Linked DNA regions of Homo sapiens: region 2 is linked to region 1. The links are contacts of gene promoters, found by promoter capture Hi-C in human tissues and cell types (Jung and others, 2019). All regions are on one chromosome and are shown on one strand. The core of a region is centred on a gene start or on the middle of the fragment in contact, and the rest is flanking DNA. Distances in the headings are between cores, read along the strand shown. Region 1 holds the start of ATP1B3 (ATPase Na+/K+ transporting subunit beta 3). Region 2 overlaps ZBTB38 (zinc finger and BTB domain containing 38).

Evidence for each region. The method cuts DNA at HindIII sites, captures the fragments that hold promoters and counts their contacts. A contact is called where the count stands out against the background at its distance.
Region 2: a contact is called between a fragment that was not itself captured here and the fragment with the promoter of ATP1B3 in region 1, in 1 of the 25 tissues and cell types used here (hippocampus).

Annotation. Positions count from the first base shown.
Region 1 is chr3:141,873,275-141,878,854 of GRCh38, reverse strand. ATP1B3 (ATPase Na+/K+ transporting subunit beta 3) reads right to left here and starts at 2,212. Exons shown (of 7, transcript NM_001679.4): 1 at 1,945-2,212. The coding sequence starts at 2,053. RefSeq lists silencers at 1,418-1,987, 2,258-2,387, 3,258-3,317. The HindIII fragment of the contact is 8,321 bases long and covers 1-5,580 here.
Region 2 is chr3:141,370,149-141,375,728 of GRCh38, reverse strand. The region is part of intron 2 of ZBTB38 (zinc finger and BTB domain containing 38); the gene reads right to left. Among named protein-coding and RNA genes, the nearest start is that of ZBTB38, 4.4 kb to the right of the region's middle. RefSeq lists enhancers at 1-93, 1,122-1,715, 2,772-2,821. The HindIII fragment of the contact is 3,328 bases long and covers 688-4,015 here.

The DNA of each region.
Region 1 (5,580 bases), core at 963-3,462:
CTTACATTGGGACAGGATTATGGTTAATTTTCACCTATATATGCCATTCTTCACTGACTTACTATTATTACAATAAACAAAAAATTTACTGATAAGAGTAATACTTATCGATTTTGAAGAGATTGACTTAATCCTTCCAAAATGAATCCCAACTTCACTTGTACTAGTTTTACAGTCCTTACACATTGCTCTCTATTTATTTGTGCATGTTATCTATTTAAATGCATTGACTCAATAAAATAAAATCTCTACCCTAGGTCATACAATACAAAGGTTGAAGAGCACTATCTGCAGTAAGAAATGTCATTCTAACACAAAGTGGAGTTACTCCGTTCTGGAAATGAGGAAGCACTGGGGAAGGGAGAAAGGGAGGAAGGTAGCCTATCAAAATTAATCTCTCTCCACCACTCAAAAATTTCTTCAGCAAAAAGTTAGTACACTCTAGAAACAAGCAATTAAGCTTTATAAATGTTCATCTTTTGTTCCCATGTAAGTCTGGATGCAAGATTTATTTCTTCATCACACTAGTGGGTTCCCAAAAGAAAACAGCAATTTAAATAAAAATCATGAGTGATTACCATGCAGTTAGGCAAGGCATCTGTAAAATAATACAACCGCTGGACTAGGATTAAAGGAGAACTGGGTTCTTTTCTTGGCTTTGTGGCATATGTAATTTTACACAAGGCAAAAATCACAACCTCTCTGGGTCTCATTTTTCTCATCTCTAAAGTGGGGGTTGGGCTAAAAATCCTCCAAGGCCCCTTTCAGCTTGTGATAAGACTTCAAGTCGCCTTTTCACCCTGAAGGAGTCCATTTCAGTCTGCACCAACAGTTTATTTTCTGAGTCACAGCTTATTTCTCCATGCTTATCCTAAAAATGTTGTGCCCAAATAGTTCTAAGCTCTCGAGATTTATTCCCACTCAGAAAGAAATGGTCTTTCAAGACCCACTAACAAAATGTTTCAAAAGGATTTAAAAAGGTAAAATTAGTTTACTTAAGTATAAAGGCAAAAAAAAAAAAAAGCTCTAGCCTGCATTCAGAGATTGATACAATTTTAGGAAAAAAAGGCATCCTAAAGCTACTCTACACGGTAGATGGTTTAAATATATTAAAACAAAGAGCTCACGCATAGAAAAAATCTGCTAACATACAACCATCACTCTCCTGTTTTGAAGACACGGGAAAAAAAAAAAAAACCTGTGTTGTTCAGACAGGATTTACTTTCCCCAAAGAAGCAAATTTGTAAGGAAGAAAACCTCTGTAATTAAAAAGGAATCCGGGAGGAACCAACCTTTTTAAGGGCCTTTTCACTGTCCAAATTCAAGTGCATTTTCTTGTACAATGTACTTCTGTGATTAACTCACCGCTACACGTTTAAGCAACCCACACCCACACTTAACACTCAGTCGCACTCTTCCGACCGGTCGGGGTGGCAGCGTGGACGAGTCACAAGATAGCGGCGGGAGTGGAAATTTCCTCTCCCCTGGAGTGGGGCAGGGTCTGGCTTCTCCGAACCGCTCAGCGGGCCGGGCGCCTCCGCCAGGGCCTCTCGGGCCGGAGCGCTCCGTACAAAGGAGGCCCGGGGGCTCGGCTCCTGCACTCTCGGGGCCCGGCTTCGGGCAGGGGTCCCCGGCTTCCGGCGCCGCGCCGGGCGGGAGGCCCGGGCAGCACGTGCGCCCCGCTCCCAGCAGGGAGGGAGGAACCAGCGCGGCCCGGCCGGGCTGCCCGCGGGCCCCGCTGCTTCGGGAGCGAGCTGCGGCCAGTCCGGCCGGCCCGGGGAGCAATGAATGGGGCCGCACTGCGCCGCCGCCGCCCGGGTTAGGGTCGGGCGGTCGGGAGCCCCGGCGCTGGGAGCCGCCTCCCGCCTTTCCGTTCCCACCAGACCGCGCCCGGCGCCCCCGGGACCGAGGCCGGCCCCGGACGCCCAGCTGCTGCCCGCTCACCCCAGCTCTTGGCGGTGCGCCCCAGGAATTCTCCGGTGGTCGGGTTGTAGATGAAGAGCTTCCACTCGGCCAGGCTCTGGTTGAGGGACTTCTTCTCGTTCTTCGTCATGGTGTGCGCGCGGACGGCGAGAGGAGCTGCGGCCGCGGGGATGGAGGCGGCGAGGGCTGCGGAGGCGCGTCCCGGCTCCGGCGGCGCAGCCCGGAGACGGCAGTGAAGGGTGGGACGGCCGAGAACACCTCCTCGTTACGGGGAGTACTCGAGCCGACTGCGCCGCGCCGCGCCGGGCGGCCGCTTGGGCCGCGGGAGCCTGACGTCTCCGCCCGCCGCAGCCAATCCCCGCGCCGCTCGGCCCGCGCCGCTGCCGCCTCCCGCCAGCGGCCGGGGCGCTGCCTGAGGCGGCGAGGGCGCCCCACCCCGCCCCGGCCCCGCCCCGCAGTAGCCTCGGGGGCTCCCTCAGCCTGGGTCAGAGGAAGCGAGAAGAAAGTCTAAAAATCCGAAGGTTTAGTCGCACGCACGTTTATAATAATAGCAAAAGGCGGGCGTCCCCGCGCCGCAGGTTGCTTAGGAGGAGGACTGGGTTTCCTGGGCGTTCCTGGGCGCCGGGGCGCTGAGAAGATGCTACCCGCGGCGGGCGGGTGCGGAGAGCACGAAAACGACTCCAGTCGGCCCGCGGCTTCCTCTCTGAGGGAACTTAATCGTCCCCTCCCCGAACTGCCTCCCCGACCGTCCCCAGGCGTTCTCTGGGCTCTGTGACGTTCCTACAGGACGCTCTCTGGGCTCTGTGACGTTCCTACAGGACGCTCTCTGGGCTCTGTGACGTTCCTACAGGACGCTCTCTGGGCTCTGTGACGTTCCTACAGGACGCTCTGCGGGGGATCGCGCGGGGCTCCCACAATGTACACGGTGCACTGCTGTTCTGAGAACGTCCTCGCTTGGCTCCCTTGAAGGGTTCAACCGGGAGCCTCGGGTCAATGGGAATTCCGTTCTAAATATGCCAGTGAATGGAGTATAATTTTTCTCGGGATTCAGTTGAATTTATCAATGAAATCTAAATACGTGCTTTCCCAAGGGTCCTGGCAACTGAAAGCTCCCAGCTTTTGCCCAGACGCTCCTACTCTTAACCCACAGGAAAGGAACACTCGTTGGAGGGTCCACGCCTGTGTAGTGTCGCCGGCTTTTCATCTCCCCTGTAGAGATCGCGGCCCTTGGGCGGAGCTGAGGGTGCCGGTAGCGTTTTCCTCCGCGAGATGGAGCTGACGAGTACGGGAGGGGGGGTGCCCTCAGACTCAGCGACAGGATAAAAGACTTTATAGGAATTTGCACAGAAGGTGCGGGGTGGGGGAGGTTGTTGTTGTTGTTGTTTATTTATTTATTTTTAGAAAAAAGCTCTGCCTCCGTTTTATTAGCAAATAAAAATTATGGAGAAATGTAATAGCCATCTTATTGTTTGGAGTGATGAATTATAATCTGTCTGGAAGTTTAAACAGCCTGCAAATGGATGAATTTTCCTTTTTCCTCACTTTTCTTACCAAAGCAAGAAATAATGAATTATACCTCCCACAAATGGAAAAGTGGTAAAATATATTCCTATAAAGTGCTTTTTTCACGCTTAAAAAAGCTAAATTTATAATTATGACATTGAAAATAACCAAAATCCATTTACGTTTTGAGCTAATGACACCAAAAGATTTGTAGAAGCATGTTGGAGAGTTTGGCATGAAATGAGTATTAGAAATAGCAAAGCACCATGCAAGCAGACTGGAATGCACTTCTTTAAATCATAGGCAAGATTGAAAGAACTAAAGAATGTTACCTGCCGGGCGCGGTGGCTCACGCCTATAATCCCAGCACTTTGGGAGGCCGAGGCAGGCGGATCAGGAGGTCAGGATCGAGACCATCCTGGCTAACGCGGTGAAACCCCGTCTCTACTAAAAATACAAAAAAATTAGCCGGGCGTGGTAGCGGGCGCCTGTAGTCCCGGCTGCTCGGGAGGCTGAGGCAGGAGAATGGGGTGAACCCAGGAAGCGGAGCTTGCAGTGAGCCGAGATCCCGCCACTGTACTCCAGCCTGGGCGACAGAGCAAGACTCCGTCTCAAAAAAAAAAAAAAAAAAAAAAAAAAAAAAAAAAAAGAATGGAAGTAGTTAACTATTTTCAACTCATTACAAATATAACTACAGGTTAGAGGAAACCTAAAATACTGGTAGAGTTGATAACAGGCTTTTTCATTTAGGTAAGAAAGAAAGATATTTAGAATGAAACAAAACCTGTCCGCTTCATTTACATTGTGTGTGTGCATGTATGTGTGTGTGCGCTAATAATAAGCGTGCTTTGATAACTAATCACCTGGCACACAAAGAAAACGTGGTAAACAAGAATATTATGAAATAGTGTTTCAAAGATATTGGCTGCTGTCAAGGATTTGTAGTTTGTGTATGTGTGTGTGTATATATATATATATATATATATATATTTTTTTTTTTTTTTTTTTTTTTTTTTTTTTTTGAGATGGAGTCTTGCTCTTGTCGCCCAGGTTGGAGTACAGTGGCTCGGATCTTGGCTCACTGCAACCTCTGCCTCCCGGGTTCAAGCAATTCTCCTGCTTCACCCTTCCAAGTAGCTGGGATTACAGACGCACGCCACCACGCCCAGCTAATTTTTTTATTTTTCAGTAGAGATGGGGTTTCACCATGTTGGCCAGGCTGGTCTCGAACTCCTGACCTCAGGTGATCCGCCCGCCTCAGCCTTCCAAAGTGATGGGATTACAGGCATGAGCCACCACGCCCAGCCTGTTAGTTTGTATATGTTTAATGGTCATTAATATGACTTTCATATTTAGTGCTTTGTGGTTTTCCAAATAAGGATTTAAATACAAATATATAATTCAGTAAGCAGTTTTGAAACACATGACTAGTTCAGTATAGTAACTAGGTCCAACAGATTTCAGTTTGGTGAAATTTTTACATTCTACTCCAAAACATGGAAGCTATTTGTTTCTCTGATATATGGTAACTTGAGCATTACCTGGAAGAGAAAATCCTGTGTGTACTGGGAACCACTGGTCTACCAAGTATGAGCAGATAACATTTAATTACAGTTACATTCTCTGTCAGTTTATTTTACTCTAAGTTTCTCCTTTGAAGGAGAAGTTACTTCGCTAGAGAAAATACAGAATGCCTACCTAAATTTAAGTCCAGATGGATGATGGATTTTTTTTGGTATACATTCCATGCAATATCTGGGACATAGCTACTCCCCCAAAATTATTCTTGTCTGTCTGAAATTCAAATTTAACTAGAAATCTTGTTTTTGTTTTTGTTTTTTTGGAGACGGAATTTGATCTTGTCGTCCAGGCTAGAGTGCAATGGCGCAATCTCGGCTCACTGCAACCCCTGCCTCCTGGGTTCAAGCGATTCTCCTGCCTCAGCCTCCCAAGTAGCTGGGATTACAAGCATGTGCCACCTCACCTGGCTAATTTTTGTGTTATTAGTAGAGACAAGGTTTCACCATGTTGTCCAGGCTGGTCTCGAACTCCTGACCTTAGGTGATCCACCCGCCTCGGCCTCCCAAAGTGCTGGGATTACAGACATGAGCCACTGCACCCAGCCTATCTTGTATTTTTATTTGCTAAATCTGA
Region 2 (5,580 bases), core at 1,102-3,601, 500 kb after region 1:
TGCCTTGACCTCAAATTTGCCCACATATTTTAGTCTGGCACTTGCCCTGACCCTGCTCCGCTGTCTTGGTTTCTGACCCCAGATCCCACCTCCTACTCTGCTCTTGTGATGCTGATCACATGGATGCTGCCTGCACGGCTGCCCTCTGTCCTCCTGGGTCCAGCTTCTTCAGTGCTACCACCTCAGGGATCAGGGCACACCACAGTCTGGCCCCATTAGGTGACCAAGATGGGCACGTGGGCCCCTTGCTAGGTCTAGGCTGCCCAAGAGTGTCTTGAAGTACGGGCATGCCTATCTGAGGGCAGGTAAGAGCTCCTTGGCTGAGGCAGGGCGTTGCCTCAGGAGTGAATCTTCTCATTGGCGCCTTTTGTCTCTTACCTAAAGGTTGGGTGACTCTGGGCCCTTTGTCTAGTTCAACCTTTGCCATTAAATCTCTGAGTGACCACCAGGAAGTAAATGAACCATTATGGGCCTCAGTGATTTCATGTGTACAATATGGTTTCTTGATTCCCTAGCTAATAATCTTTTTACTACATCATATTACAGTTAAAGGAAAATCTAAAAATCAGAAGCCAAAAAAAGACTTTAAGTTAAATTCTGGCATAGACATACTAGCTCAGAGTTTCCTAATTTTTTTTGTCTAATAAATGTTTGCCAACTGAATATTTGTTGAACTGAATGCAGCATGTCAATAGTTCTCAGGCATTAATGCAGAAGAATTGGGAGGGCAGGTTAAAATGCATATCCCCAGGCTCCTCCTCAGAGCTTCCAATACCACTGGGGCCTAGCAGCATGCATTTTAATGTGAGAAACTAAAAAAGACCAAGGTTTTGAAATAGACATTCGTACCTTTCTAGGGGCCAATTCACCAATATGCATTAGAAACTTTAAAAATAGTAGAACACTAAAGTGAATCAAAATGTCCAACAACAAAAAACTGATACATTAAAATGTATCAGTGCAATGGAAATAGAGCCATTAAAAATCATGTTTTCAAAGACCATCTAGTGATTTGGTAAAATGTTTACAACATAATGTTAAATGGGGGCAAAACACCACATAAAATACCATCTCAACAATTTTTAACATTTTGATGTATTTTTTCCAATTTTTTTCTTGTATATATTCTTCTCTCTTTTTAAAAAGGAGAGAATGGGGTGGGGTTGGGGTGAGGGGTTATACTAATGCTCTTTTGGACAAAGATGAGGGGTCCACTCTCTCCACTCTGGCTTGGAAGGCACTACCCAAGGTCAATGCCTCCGTGGAGGAGTTTCCAAGCCTCCTTATCCCAATGCACTGGGAGCCCCATAGAATGCCAGGAATCATCTTCTTTTGGCAGAGAGATGACTCATCCATCATTCCTCAAAGGTTTCAGTGAACCCCAGGTTAAATGTCCCTGTGAATAAGATCAGAAGCCTCTCCATGGGGAGTCTGGCCTACAATCAAACATGCTTTGGCTAGTTAGAAGTGATGCTAAGGCTCCCAGATGAAAGTCAATTTAGAAAGACAAAAAAATCTTTAAAATAATGATAATAACAATATCAAAAGTCAAAGCACCAATACTGACCATAATTATGATGATTATTTTTTATCAACACTTTTTTTTTTTTTTCCTCTGTTGCCTAGGCTGGAGTACAGTGGCCCAGTCGTGGCTCACCACAACCTCCGCCTCCTGGGTTCAACCAATTCTCATACCTCAGCCTCCCAAGAAGCTGGGATTACAGGCATGTGCCACCAAGCCCAGCTAATTTTTGTATTTTTAGTAGAGGCAGGGCTTCACGATTTTGGCTGGGCTGGTCTTGAACTCCTGGCCTCAAGCAATCTGCGCACCTCAGCCTCCCAAAGTGCTGGGATTTCCGGTGTGAGCCACCACTCCCGGCCTTTATCAGCAGTTTACCTTGACATGCACTTTTCTAAGTTGCCCATATCATTTTGCATATATCACCTACTTATTCTGACAGAGTCTCAGCATTACATTTTCTAACAATACTATTTTGGAGGTAGGAGGGAGCTTTAAAGTTCTGATGAAAACCAGAAGCTTCTTGAGTTAAAAACAAAACCCTGAAGTGTGGTATTTTCCAACTTGGTTCTTGACAAGAAATTAGGGGATTTCAGTGTGAGAAATTATAAAGCCCTATTACTATGAATTCTTAGTTTTGGTGAATATGATGTGGTATTTCTGCAAAACTCTCTAAGGAGAGTGACAGAACATTCATGATGCTGACCCATGGGGAGAAAGGAGCTTGCACACCTGTGCTATGACAATTCTAAAACCTCAGGGATTAAAATACTCAACTAGTGTAAGAGCTGCCTGTGTGAGACTGTGTGCTCAGTCCACATCTGCTCATCATGGCTCAACAAGGCCAGGCTCAGATCTTTAGATGACCTAAGCTCTGAAAAGACTATAGTGCCTCAAATTTGAATTATTACTCCCATGTGAAATTAAAATAGAAAAAAATAACAAAATACAAAATTAAGGTTGAGAAAGCTCAACAAAGTCTAACTTTTCCCAGGCTGTCTCCTTTGATGCTTTTTTTGAAATGTCAAATATCAAAATATTTACAAAATGTGTGTTTGTACACAATCCTGCTTTGCTGATGTTGTCTGTGAGGTCACTCAGCATCCAGTGGTCACAGGGATCTATGGCTTTCTTTCAAACACAAAGTGTTGACAGTAGTGAAATTCTGGTACCTGATGTGGTGGTCTTACTCCCCTTCCTGTAGTAATATGCAGCTAGAAATTAGAAATCAGGAGGCTGGCCCCCTCCCCCAACCCTAACACCATTCATATGTCAACTACTGCATACTTAGTGCTTTGAGGAGTCATAACAGATGGTAGTTGAAATTAGCAAGCTGTGATTAGCCATTCTCCCACATGAATGGACCCTGATGTTGACTGAGACCTTTGGCTCTGCCCTTCCTGAAAGACTCTGTTAGGCTAGGACTTCCAGCAACACATCATCCCCATTTGGCTCCAGCTTTTGAAATCTGGCACATATTCTTAACTTATTCCTTCAACTGCACCCTTCTAGCAGGCACTGTATTCCCCATTCACCTGGTCTTTTTTTTTTTTTTTGGAGATGGAGTTTCTCTCTTGTTGCCCAGGCCGGAGTCCTGTGGTGTGATCTCGGTTCACTGCAACCTCTGCCTCCCAGGTTCAAGCAATTCCCCTGCCTCAGCCTCCCAAGTAGCTGGGATTATAGGTGTGCGCCACCCTGCTCGGCTAATTTTGTATTTTTTTTTAGTAGAGATGGGGTTTCACCATGTTGGTCAGGCTGGTCTTGAACTCCTGACCTCAAGTGATCCACCTGCCTCGGCCTCCCAAAGTGCAGGGATTATAGGCATGAGCCACCATGCCCAGCCCAACCTGGTCTTATCATTAGCTTATACCACTAGCCCAGCCAGCTCCCCGATCAATAGACACTTTCAGTTCCTAACAACTTGGAAAGACAGACTTTCAGAGGCTGAAGTATTTTTGCAGCAACTCATCTTGTTATTCTATTCCATTCCTCCTCAGCTCCATCCTAATGTAAGGGGACTGGGCAGAGGCTAGGCAGCCATAACAGGAGAGTAGGCCAGGCATCAGCCTCTGTCAGATATCTGAGAAGCTGTGGCAAATTGGCCAGTAACAGGTATCCCCACACAACAGACAATACATGCTCTTCAGGGTGTGGATGTGGGTGCCAGAAAGGTCAAGTCCAGGGGCAAAAGTCAATCAGAAACCAGAGTGTTTAGTCAGATATTGACAAAACTAGAGAACTAGGTACCAGGCACCTCAGGCAAAGACTTGAGTTCATTTTTATTTCACACCTTTAAGTCTGGGGCATCACAAGGCACCCATCATATGGTTTATATTTACGAATGAGGGGAATACTTCACCAACATCAACAATGGTTAGAAGGTTACATAAAATGTTAAACTTATTAAAAGTTCTCCAAACAGAGCTTACAACTTTACCACTTATTATTTCAGTAAATGTTTTGAAACTTTTCCTGAAAATAAAAAGCTAGACATATATATCACATCTTTTGGGGTAGCATTAATAGCCCCAGCCTGAGACTTTTTAGTCTACTTTTAAATGTTTCTCGGCTGGGCCCGGTGGCTCATGCCTGTTATCCTAGCACTTTGGGAGGCCAAGGTGGGTGGTGGATTGCTTGAGCCCAGGAGTTCAAGACCAGCCTGGGCAACATGGTGAAACCTTGTTTCTACAAAAAATACAAAAATTAGCCAGGCATGGTGACACATGCCTGTAGTCTCAGCTACTTGGGAGGATCGCTTGAGCCTGAGAAGTTGAGGCTGCAGTGAGCCATGATCGTGCCACTGCACTCCAGCCTGGGTGACAGAGTGAAACCCTGTCTCAAAGAAAAAAAAAGTTTCTCGGCTGGGCGCTATGGCTCATGTCTGTAATCTCAGCACTTTGGCAGGCCAAGGCCGGCAGATCACGAGGTCAAGAGATGGAGACCATCCTGGCCAACATGGTGAAACCCCATCTCTACTAAAAATACAAAAATTAGCTGGGTGTGGTGGTGCGTGCCTGCAGTCCCAGCTACTCAGGAGGCTGAGGCAGTAGAATCACTTGAACCTGGGAGGCAGAGGTTGCAGTGAACTGAGATCATGCCGATGCACTCCAGCCTGGCAACAGAGTGAGACTCTGCCTCAAAAAAAAAAAAAAAAAAAAAAAAAAGAAAGAAAGAAAAGAAAAGAAAAAACAGTTTAATAACTTGGTTTAAAGGTCTAACCTTCGGGAATTTTCACCCTGATCAAATGTCCCAAGACCTGGAGCAGATCCTGTAGGATACATTTCCAAAGCCTCCAGTAGCAGAGAAAACTACGAGCTAAGGAAGTCAAGAGCTTTCCTATAGACCACTGGGGCTCATAGTTGGGGGAGCAGAATTCTGTCACAATTCCAACTAATATGACTAGATCCAGGAAGAAGAGAAAGCCAGTATAGTCCTAGACCAAGAGGATCCTGAGAGGAAAAATAAGTAAAAGGAAATAAGGAAAATGTCCTTCATGGTTCACTGGCCATGGGCAACATGATGCTTAGGGTCATAATGGACAGAGGTGTTGAGAAATCTCATCCATTGCATCTTGCCCTCATGGCCAGATGTTACCTAAGAGTGTCAGTCAGGAAAACCTAAATGTGGATAATTGTTTACTTCTCCCACTGTTTCTATGCAACTTTATCCTTGAGTATCTCCAAGTTTCTTTTATGTGCTGTGCCAGAGAGAACTACCTCTTCTTCAGAAACCCCTCCAGAGCTGTCACTGCTAAGTGGCTGCTCCACCAAGGACTACATTTCCCAGACTCCTCTGTGGTTAGCTGTGGTCATGTGATGGAGTTTTAGCCAATGGAATGTGAGTAGAAGTAACACGCACCACTTCTAGGCAGAGCCCATAAAAAACTCCCATGTGCACTTTTTCATGCTCTTTTCTTACTGCACTGAGGAGTGGAGACACCCCTAGGCGACCTTGAAAACCACATGCTGCAGAAGGCAAAGCCCCTCTCTACCTGTGTCTCTGAATGAATGCATGAAAGACAGTTGCCCCACTGACCTGTACTGTTACATGAGCAAGAAATA